Linked DNA regions of Homo sapiens: regions 1, 2 and 4 are each linked to region 3. The links are contacts of gene promoters, found by promoter capture Hi-C in blood cells and fetal thymus (Javierre and others, 2016). All regions are on one chromosome and are shown on one strand. The core of a region is centred on a gene start or on the middle of the fragment in contact, and the rest is flanking DNA. Distances in the headings are between cores, read along the strand shown. Region 1 overlaps SH3RF3 (SH3 domain containing ring finger 3). Region 2 overlaps SH3RF3 (SH3 domain containing ring finger 3). Region 3 holds the start of EDAR (ectodysplasin A receptor). Region 4 overlaps SH3RF3 (SH3 domain containing ring finger 3).

What was found. The method cuts DNA at HindIII sites, captures the fragments that hold promoters and counts their contacts. A CHiCAGO score of 5 or more calls a contact.
Region 1: a fragment that was not itself captured here is called in contact with the fragment with the promoter of EDAR in region 3 in 7 of 17 cell types (M1 macrophages, M0 macrophages, naive CD8 T cells and 4 more); the score reaches 8.4 in M1 macrophages.
Region 2: a contact is called between a fragment that was not itself captured here and the fragment with the promoter of EDAR in region 3, in 4 of 17 cell types (naive CD8 T cells, total CD4 T cells, non-activated CD4 T cells and 1 more). The highest score is 7.3, in naive CD8 T cells.
Region 4: a contact is called between a fragment that was not itself captured here and the fragment with the promoter of EDAR in region 3, in 1 of 17 cell types (non-activated CD4 T cells). The highest score is 5.0, in non-activated CD4 T cells.

Annotation. Positions count from the first base shown.
Region 1 is chr2:109,458,365-109,461,064 of GRCh38, reverse strand. All of the region lies in intron 8 of SH3RF3 (SH3 domain containing ring finger 3), which reads right to left. It also overlaps a transcript of RANBP2 not described here. Among named protein-coding and RNA genes, the nearest start is that of MIR4266, 150 kb to the right of the region's middle. The HindIII fragment of the contact is 5,379 bases long and covers 1-2,700 here.
Region 2 is chr2:109,320,099-109,322,798 of GRCh38, reverse strand. All of the region lies in intron 1 of SH3RF3 (SH3 domain containing ring finger 3), which reads right to left. It also overlaps a transcript of RANBP2 not described here. Among named protein-coding and RNA genes, the nearest start is that of MIR4266, 7.8 kb to the right of the region's middle. The HindIII fragment of the contact is 4,135 bases long and covers 1-2,700 here.
Region 3 is chr2:108,987,898-108,990,597 of GRCh38, reverse strand. EDAR (ectodysplasin A receptor) reads left to right here and starts at 1,378. Exons shown (of 12, transcript NM_022336.4): 1 at 1,378-1,638. It also overlaps a transcript of RANBP2 not described here. RefSeq lists an enhancer at 2,404-2,700. The HindIII fragment of the contact is 677 bases long and covers 1,094-1,770 here.
Region 4 is chr2:109,260,588-109,263,287 of GRCh38, reverse strand. The region is part of intron 1 of SH3RF3 (SH3 domain containing ring finger 3); the gene reads right to left. It also overlaps a transcript of RANBP2 not described here. Among named protein-coding and RNA genes, the nearest start is that of MIR4266, 52 kb to the left of the region's middle. RefSeq lists an enhancer at 2,292-2,700. The HindIII fragment of the contact is 571 bases long and covers 1,039-1,609 here.

The DNA.
Region 1 (2,700 bases), core at 59-2,558, 470 kb before region 3:
GCTGCCTTCTCTCTCCCAGCCTGCACCTGTGGCCTCCTGGGCAGTTCCATAGGATCACACAGGAAGATAAGACTTGAGCCTGGTTCACAGATGGTTCTGCACCATATGCAGGCACCACCTGAAAGTGGGCAGCTGCAGCACTGCAGCCCCTCTCTGGGACATCCCTGAGGGACAGCAGTGAAGGGAAAGCCTCTCAGTGGGCAGAACTTTGAGGAATGCACCTGGTTGTGCACTTTGCTTGGAAGGAGAAGTGGCTAGAAGTGTGATTGTTTAATGATTCATAGGCTGTGGCCGATGATTTGGCTGGTTGGTCAGGGACTTGCAAGAAACATAATTGGAAAATTGGTGACAAGGAAATTGGAAAAGCACATGTGAAAAGACCTCTTTCAATGGGAAAACATGTGGTGAAATTTGTGTGCCATTTAAATGCTCACCAAAGGGTGACCTCAGCAGAGGAGGACTTTAGTAATTCCACAGATGGGATTCTGTGGAGCACAGTCAATGACTGAGCCTCTTTCCTCAGCCATTCCTGTCATTGCCCAGTGGACCCATGAACAGAGTGGCCACTGTGGATGGAGGTGATGCATGGGCTCAGCATCATGGATTTCCACTCACCATGGCCAACCTGGCTACGACTACCACTGTGTCCAATCCACCAGCAGCAGAGAACAACAGTGAGTCCCCAGCATGTCACCACTCCCTGAGATGGTCAGCATCCACCTGGGGGCAAGGTGACTACCTTGGACCACCTCCATCAAGGAAGGGGCAATGGTGTTTTGTCCTTCCTGGAATGGATACTATTCACTCTAGATATGGATTTGTCTTCCCTACACACAATGCTTCTGCCAAAGTGAATATCCATGGACTTCAGAATGCCTTAACCACCATCACGGTATTCCACACAGCACTGCTTCTGACTGAGGAGCTCACTCCATAGCAAATGAAGTGCAGCAATGGGCTCGTGTGCATGGAACTCACTGGCTCTACCATGTTCCCCATTATGCTGGCAGCTGGCTTGACAGAATGTAGAATGACCTTTTGAAGACTCAGTTACAGCACCAGCTGGGTGACAGTCCCTTGCAGGGCTGGGACAATATTCTCCAGAAGGCTGGGTATGCTCTGAATCAGCATCAAATATATGGTGCTATTTCTCCTACAGCCAGGACTCATGGGCCCAGGAATCATGGGGCAGAAATGGGAGAAGCACCACTTATTATGACCCCTAGTAACCCACTAGCAAAATGTCTGCTTCTTGTTCTCACAACATTATGTTCTACTAGTCTAGAGGTCTTGGTTCCAGGGGGAGGAATGTTGCCACCAGGAAACATGACAATGATTCCATTGAGCTGGAATTCAAGACTGCCACTCAGCCGCTTTGGGATCCTTGTGGCTTAGAATCAAAGGCAGGAACGGGAACTACTGTGCTGGCTCGGGTGACTGATCCTGACCACCGTGGGAAACTGGACTGCACTCCATAGTGGACATGGGCAAGAGCATGTCTGGGATACAGGAGATCCCTTGGGGTGTCTCCTAGCACGCTCTCAATCACAATGCCCCGTGACTGAGGTCAATGGAAAACTATAACCACCCAATCCAGACAGGACTAAAAATGGCCCAGTCCCTTCAGGAATGAAGGTTTGGATCACCCCACCAGGTAAGGGTCCATGCCCAGATGAGGCGCTTTCTGAAGGGAAGGGGAATACAGATTGGATAGTAGACAAAGTAATTATAAATACCAGCCATGACCATGTGAACAGCTACAGAAATGAGGATTGTAACTGTTGTAAGTATTTCCTCCTATTTTGTTAAGAATATGTCTGTGTGAATGTGTATATTAAGCAGTACCTTTGTTTTCTTCTCTCTCTTATCTCACCATGTAATATAAGTTGCACTGACTTTATATGATATGATTATTATATGATAGTATTTAAGTTACAAGATATCAAGAAGAAGACGAAGCACCACTCAAAGACTCTGAATCCTCTTCTGGGAAGGGCGCATGCACTCTTGGTGTAGTCAGGCTTGTTGTATCATATTAGGCAGAAGTATGACTTTGCTTTTGTCTTTATGTGGAAACTAAGTATAGTTTAGGGAGATGTCAAGCTGACAAAGGATGGACGGTGATGGTGAGTTTTATGTCAGTGTGGCTAGGCAGGTACCCAGTTGTTTGAGCAAACACTAATCTAGATGTTGCTATGAAGGCATTTGGCAAATGTGTTAATATCTACAGCCAGTTTACCTTAAGTAAAAGAGATTACTGAAAGTACATACCTTGATAATGTGGGTGGGCCTCGCCCAATCAGCTGAAGGCCTTAAGAGCAATCACAGGCATCCTGTGGACAATGATTTTCTGCCTCAAGACTGCACAGCAACTCCTGACTGAGGGTCCAGCCTGCTGGGCTGCCCCACAGAATTCAGGCTTGCCAGCCTCCACAGTCACATAATTCCTTAAAATAAATAAATTCTCTCTCTCTCTCTCTCTCTCTCTCTCTGTCTCCTGCTGGTTCTGTTTCTCTGGAGATCCCTGACTGATACAAACCAATAATTAATTTTTATAGTATTCCCATGAGTACAAAAAGACATTATTCCCATTTTCACACTAAATAAACTGAAGTCTAGGGGAGTTGTAAGGTGACCTTAAAGTGAAAGAGAGAATAAATAAGAGTTAGAAGGCAGGTGATGAAGCCATAAATCTAGCCA
Region 2 (2,700 bases), core at 46-2,545, 330 kb before region 3:
GATTTCTGAGTTGGAGAAGGGTTCTTATTTGAATCCTTATTTGCTGGAAAAGCAAAATATGAGCTGATCATCTACCTCTTAATGAATTAGAAATCACTTATGTGGGTGCCCTGTGTGCTCAGCTAATGAGTCCTTTTTAAAAGGTTATTTCTGCTGGAGACCAGCCTTTGACATTTGACTGGCGACTACTGCAGATTTATTCATTCAGCAAATTTATTCTTGCAGTAACTCTCAAAATCAGTGCACACTATTACACAGCACAGGCCCTATTTGTGAAATTATTTATAGGCTTATTTAGAAATTTCAGCTTCCTTAAGATGGACAATTTTATTGGCTGATTTAAGCTCAACTCTCAGGCAAAGACAACTCACCCGCCTCCTAGTTCAGGCTCCTGGATTCCTGCCACCCCAACTGCCTAGTCTGCCTGTGGGAACATTTCGGCACATGTTGAAATGTTCTGCCTCTGCCGGCCCTGGCTGCCCTCAGACTCCATGGGTTTACAGAGCAGGATCTGGATTTATGACTTCAACAGGAAATGCAAAATACACAAAGTTCCAGCAAGAAGGGAGAAGGAGTGGTGATTATTCGGGGGATTCCAGAATGCTTGAAGGGGCGCTGAGTCTCCTGTGTATCCGTGTCTTGTCTCTCTCTTCCTCCCCCTTACTCCTTACCCTTCTTTTTCCCTTTCCTCATTCTTTCCCTCTCCCCGCTTCTCTCCCTTACCCTTTCTCGCTCCTTGCTGTGCCTTCCAGTTGCCAAGGTGACTTATTTTAAAAAGAGCCATCCACTTCTTGAAATGTGGTATTTGCTTTCATACTGAATAACGAGGACCAATCATCTTCAGAGCTCTGATCCTCCAGAAAAGGGCCCCATCTCCCCTTCAGAGAAGTCCTGAAGTCCTGACCACACTGGGACTTGAAGTAAGCAGTGGGAATCCACTGGAATTTGGCAGAACCTTGGGATTGTCATGGCCAGCCTCTGATGTCAAAATGTGACCAATCCCTCGCGAACACATCTCTCTAGCAGAATAACAGTAGTTGGAAGTAGATCTTCCCTCCAAAAATCTGTCTATACTTGAGTTGCACGGCAGGGGGCCAGGGTTGACACTTATTACAAATTTATTCATTTTTGCCAGATCCCTTCTGCCACAAGAGGGTTTTATCTAGACAAGGTTCCTAAATTGGCTTTGCAAAATGTAATCCTCTATTGATTGTCTCATCTCCTGTAATCCATCCAGTTATTGGAGAATGTTTGTTAAATTTCTATTTTAATAAAAACATCAACCACAACATTTATCTTCCTTTGTTAAATGGAAACAAAGCATAATCTAATTTTAAAAATACTATAAGCTGATAATCAAAATTCAACAACTGTATGCCCTGAACTCAACTAATTTCCACTTCAAATGCTCCTAATCCACATAGGCTTTGGCAATGAATGATGACGTTCTGGTATGGAAGAGGCAATCTGCATGCCACATTTGCTCTACCAATTTACTAAATTAAGTGGCAAGACAATAAAGGAATGGCGTTTTAATGAGAACAGCCTAATTAAAAGTGAATCCGAGGATATAAGGTTTGAGTTCTATTACTGACTGCATACCTCAAAGAATGTGAAGAGCTGCAAAGAAGCGTTTGAGAGGTGCATCCATGCACATGGCGTCTTGTGTGTCCGTGAGTCTTTCTTCCATGAATACTACTTATCACTAATCATTATCAGTAGTAATCATTACTTACATGTCTATAAGTTATCAGTAAGAGCAGCCATTTTTGAGCTCCCATGGAACAATCTATGTAGGTATGTAGATGCCTTACATACAATCTAATCCATATCCTAAAACCCTGCAAGATGGCAATATTACCATCACTTTACAGATGAAGTGTTTGTGGTTCAGAAGGTTAACCCAGGTGATGAGTATCGTAGGGCAGGGATTTGAATCTTGGTCTGGTGCCCGAATCCATGGCCATTCCATCTGACCACTCTGCCTGTCCATGTACAGCAAGCAAAGCAATGTGCCTCGAGTTTTATTTTCTCCCAGCAGAAAGTTCATCTGCCTGACGTTGTTTACTTGTCTGTTCATCTGCGGGGCTGATATCTTTACAGAAGAGGAATGCCAGTAATTTTACAAGAACAACAGTTGTGCATATTGGGTGTTATAGAGCTGGAATCCAGCACTGATTTTGGTGACCTAGTAAGCAGAGGGTTTAGACATTCTGATTAGGTGGGGAGAGGCCTAAACTTCTCCCAGATAACAAACATGTATCCAGCAGGTAGGACAGCCTCCCTTTGAGCATGAAAGGGTATAACTGGCCTTGGTTAAGAAGACGTGAGGAGGAAGTTGTGGCTCACTGCCGAGGATGGGCGCCTGCGGTGGTTCCAGCAGGAAGGATGGTTTTGCACTCACTGTGGTGAGATCAAACGTTGTACCTGCTGCTCAGGTGGGCTTGGGAAAGGGTGAGGGCCTGTACCTCCCTCTCTAGTCCAGGTGGCCACTGGCTGCTGTGCAGAGAACAGGAAGGAAACCTCTGCTCTCATTCCCACCGCCCTCCTCTGCCCGGAAAGCAGCCCTCAAAAATGGAATTAGAGTCAATGAGCCGAGCAGAGGCAAGCCGAGGGCTGTGACGGCCATGAGAACTGGGGTGAGAGAAGAGTTGTGTTGCTTCTACAGGCTTTACAGGAGCACTAGTAGGACTTGGTTCC
Region 3 (2,700 bases), core at 129-2,628:
TTGAGACAGATTCTCGCTCTGTTGCCCAGGCTGGAGTGCAGTGGCACAATCTCGGCTCACTGCAACTTCCATCTCCTGGGTTCGAACAATTCTCCTGCTTTAGCCTCCACACATGCCACCACCGGCTAATTTTTGTATATTTTTTTTTTTTTTTTTTTTTGAGACGGAGTCTCGCTCTGTCACCCAGGCCGGACTGCGGACTGCAGTGGCGCAATCTCGGCTCACTGCAAGCTCCGCTTCCCGGGTTCACGCCATTCTCCTGCCTCAGCCTCCCGAGTAGCTGGGACTACAGGCGCCCGCCACCACGCCCGGCTAATTTTTTGTATTTTTAGTAGAGACGGGGTTTCACCTTGTTAGCCAGGATGGTCTCGATCTCCTGACCTCATGATCCACCCGCCTCGGCCTCCCAAAGTGCTGGGATTACAGGCGTGAGCCACCGCGCCCGGCCTAATTTTTGTATTTTTAGTAGGGACGGAGTTTCACCATGTTGGCCAGGCTGATCCCAAACTCCTGACCTCAAGTGATCTGCCCGCCTCAGCCTCCAAAGTGCTGGGGTTACAGGTGTGAGCCACGGAGCCCAGACTGTTTCTTTCTTAAGCTCTTACTTTCTCATGTGTGAGTTACCTTGTAGGTTTCCAAGGCAGAGGGGACAAGATGGAAAAGGAGAACACAGAAATCTAGCCTGGAGGAGCTGCTCTGTTCCTGTATTTATCTGTGTAGGTGTGAATGAGGGAGAAAATGACAAGAGAATGACATTATTTTAAGGCTGTTTTCCCCCCCCCAATCATTTACTTTTTGAGAAATAATTGCCCAATACTGAAAGGTATGTCCTTTCAAAATGTTGATGTTTCAAATGGCTTCCTAATTACCTAGTTATACGGGGGGTGTGTATGGTTATCTGAAGTTACATGGGTATACACTGGTGGTGTGAGGTGTCCAGAGAGAGGAAAGGAAGAGCAGTCCTGGTGGCTCAAACCCTGAGGGATGTGCGGGGGATGGGTGAGAATGTGAACAGACATGTTGGAAGCTGAATCCGTGCAGTGGCACCCATGCCTGTAGCCATCTCAGTGGGGGGTCCTTCTACGAACAAGCTTTGATTAATGATATTTTAATGCTAGTTTAGCTTTTTAGCACTCCCACGCCTAAAGGCTCTGATAGAAGCAAGGCCCCCACCCCTGCAAAAAAAAAAATCCATGATTTTTACGCATTCCAACAGATCTCTTAAGGGGCAGACGGCCGGAGAGCCAGGTGTGCCAGGGACCTATGGCAGCAGGGCTGAACGTGCCCGCTCCAGCCTCTCCAGTGCTGGGAGAGACCTCTAGATGGTGCAGGTGAGTTTGCAATGAGGGAAAGCCCCTCGGCAAGGACTGAGTTTCCAAACTTGCAGACAGGGCAGGGAGCGGTCAAGGAAGAGTTCCCGGGAAGCCCTTTAAACGGAAAGGAAGCGGGGCTAGTGTCAGAGAGGTGTGCCAGGTCCCAGGCAGCCCTGCTGGCCCCTAAGGACATAGAGTACCTGCTTCTGAGAGGGCTGCCACGGTGGCCACCTGTGAAGCCTGTCACCCAGAACTGGATGGTACCTGACTTTCTTCATAGACCCATCTTCTGCTGGGACTGAAGCTGACCTCCAACAGAAGCCAGGTAAGCCCTGGTCCTTTCCTCTGGTTTTCTAAACTCTTCAGCTGTGGCCGAGACGGAGGTGTCATGGGCTGGGAGAGAGGCTGGGTGCATTTTTGAAATGCATGTCATTTTTGGGTTGCGTTTGAACAAGCTTTACCGATTGCAGTATGTCTGCGCTACCAGTTCTAAGACCTGAGATTGTTCCTTTGTTTTAGAAAAACATCAGAAACCCTGTTTTGCTGTTGGTTGCACATTTGGTTAGGGAGACAAATTCTGTGTGTGCTTCACAGGCTTTAAGATTTGGGCTACTGAAGCAACGGGTTCCTCCAGGGAGCGTGAAAAGTATGTTTCTCAGGTTTGCCCCTGTGCCCGGCTCACTGGGGAAGGCAGGCGCGGCAGGGACTCTAGCTGGGCTCTGTACCTGCCTCCAACTCTGCGTACCCGCTGTGACCTAAGAGACCTTCCAAGTGGGGTTTCCAGTCGTGTCTGAGACCCCCCATATCCTGGCCTCTGTGTTGGTGGCGGGGGAGCGGGGAGAGGGAGAGAAGGAGGGGAGTGGGTACCTATTTGTGATGATTGAGGTTTTCATTTCCAGCCAAGAGGTTCCTCTCAACACTCTGACAGACCGTGGGGTGGGTTGGGCTCCTAGACAGGAGTCGGCTCTGATTCAGTCGGCTCTGATTCCCAGCCTCCTGCAGCAGCCAAGCTTTGAGATGTCAGCTCAGGGAGAAGCGGGTGGCTGGGCAGGGAGGTCAGCAGGCGAGGTTCCCACTGGGTTTCCCTGCCCATGTTGTGCTGGGTCAGCAACAAGAGGGACAGTTAAAATCAACAAGCAGGGCAGATGCCGGTCAGTGGGCAATCCCACACAGCCAGGGGTACACGCATGTGAGGAGACGTACGGAGAGACAGGAGCACCACCGTCCTCTTCCCCAGTCCCCAGGCCACTGCTCTGTGGCTCTCAAGTGGCATTTTTGAGACACTTTCTAAGCAAGAGTGAAAGTGTAACAAAGAAGTGAAGAGCCATAATAGACTGAAGGAAAAAAGGGATCCAGGCATCTAAAATAGAGAATGTTTCTTGCCTGG
Region 4 (2,700 bases), core at 75-2,574, 270 kb before region 3:
GCTAAAATCAAGTGACCACAGATAATAATTTAAACCAACATAAAATGACAAAGAGCACTAGTAAAGACAGCCGGGTCATTATAAAAGATAGTATGAATGCACATGTCTCTGCCGTTCTTAACTCATTTAACAAAGTGATTGCGGCTGGGCGTGGTGGCTCACGCCTATAATCCCAGCCCTTTGGGAGGCCGAGGTGGGTGAATTACCTAAGGTCAGGAGTTCGAGACCAGCCTGGCCAATATGGTGAAACCCTGTCTCTACCAAAAATACAAAAAAAAATACAAAAAACGAGCCAGGTGTGGTGGCGGGCACCTGTACTCCCAGCTACGTGGGAGGCTGAGACAGAAGAGTTGCTGGAACCCGGGAGGCAAAGGTTGCAGTGAGCCAAGATCATGCCACTGCACTCCAGCCTGGACAACAGAGGAAGACTCTGTCTCAAAAAAATAAAAAAGAAAAAAGAAAGTCTTGTATGAAAATAAAAATATAATTTTATCATTGGGCCCATTACATATATAAATGTAATATATTTTCCAATAATGGAACCAAGGAGGTAAGTGAGAACAAAGCTATTTGCGGATAAAGAATTATCTCCTGATAATAACTTGAATGCACCAACACAAATGGGGTAAACCAGAAATTCAAAATAAGGTTAATATCACAAAAGTTGTAGACATACAATTGCTCTTTCATTTCTCAGCTTCTTTAAAAGAAACAACATTACGTAAAATAATAAAACAAGAAAACCTTTGAAGGATGAGGCCGCAAGGAAAGGGCCTGGGTAGGTTTACCTGGCTGCAGAGAGTGGGGCCTCCGGACACTGTCCTATGGGCTCTTGGGTACCCCACAGGCACCATGAGAGGTTCCCAGGGCATCGAAAGCAGAGTTTGAAGGCAGTAACCCCAAAGCTCCTGCAATCAGCATGGCTGCCCCCAGGTACAGTGAAAGCACCACCCTCCTGGTGCTTTTCCACCGTGGTTACTCGAGACATTTATCTCTCCCATTTACAAACCACTTAGACAACTGGTTTCTCTCCAAGCTTTCAAGCCTCAGATGGTTAAATGCAGAATCATGATGTTGGTCTTCTTTAAATAAGACTGTTAGACAAATACAACTGTAACCATAACAGGAAAGACCCCAGCACTGTAATAATAAGCATTTCCCAGGGCTTTCCTGCCCTGAGGCCGAGGGCACCTGTGGGCTTGCTCATGCTTGCTGGCACCGTTGGGGCTGGTGCATCAGCAGCCGGGCCACCGACCTGTCTCCTGCTCTAGCCACTCTTAGGGGACCTGGTTTTATAGAGCTTTGTGGCCCTTCCTCTGATGTAATGAAGTGGAATGCTACACATCCAGTAAAGATCTTAATACACACCACACTGAATGCATCAACATGTCTCGTATCAGCAGAGAGCCCAATTAATAAATTTAAAAAAAAAAGGCAAGCCTCAGTTTCCCTACTATAAGTGAAGGGGTGGGGAGGCTGACCAGTAGGGTGACCCACCTCCCAAACACTGTATAAATCCATGACAAAGGCTTGAAATGCCTGCCGATTACACTGATTCTCAATGAGCCAAATTTTAAATACACACCCAATTCAATAAGAGTCCTAAGCTTTACCTGTCGTCATGGGGCCTGGCCAGCACACAGCCATCAGAGTCTCAATGAACACTGAACACCACCTGCAGCCCCATGCCACTTCTTTCTGGGCACACCCTTCCCTTCGAATGCACTTGTTTGTGTTTGTCCCTGGGAGATGGGAGGTGCCTGGCTGCTGCACACACAGGTGGGAGGCTGAGCATATTTCACACACGTCTGACACCTCCAAAGCCAAGAAGCAAACATCCTTGACCTCTGCCTGTCCAGCTCCACAGACTGCACATTTTACTGCTCTGCTGTAATTACAATGAAAACAAACACAATTTAATCCTCATGATTAACTAGAGCTCTTGCTGTGTGCTGTTCAGCACAGTGTGCGGATCAAGGCTTCCTGGAGCCCTGGGGAGGGGACAATCACCTCCACATCATTGCTTTGTTCTGCTTGACAGGAAGAGCCATCAGCCAGGGCCCTCGCTTTACACCTATGCAACTACAAAGGGCCCTGACCATACCTGTGTGACAGAGCCAGAAATGTTGATGTGTCCACACAACAGAAGGCTAGCTCACGGGCCTGGCTGTTGGGCCCCCATTGGGCGTCTTGGCAGAAATGGACCCGTGTAAGACACTTCAGGCCAAGTGCTCATGCTACTGACCTCCTTCCTGCAGACACAGTGCCCTCTAAAGGGAGGGAAAGGCTCTCCATCCAGAGAAGGGCACATGGGGCTGAGAACACCTCAAACAGTCCAGCCTCACTGCTTGTAAACAGAGTGGCCTTCCTCTCACAGCAGAGGCAGGATGGGGTTCTGAAGTCACCTGCCTGCCTGGCTTCAACCATTTACCTTCCATTACTCTCTGTAGGGGAGGAAGAAGTCCCTCCCCTGAAACCATGCACTTAGGAACTTGGTTCAGACACACGCTAGGGTCACCTGAAGTTTCCGTGCCTTCTGTCCCTGGATTGCCCATGGACAGTATCAGGCCATAAGATTGCAAGTCTTCTCTTCACCCTCTGCAGGCCGCTTCTCCCATGGGCCTCCATTGGCCCTGGACAGCCTGTCAGCTCTCAGCCATGGGCCACCTCACCAGTCAGATCCTGCATCAGGCACTCCAC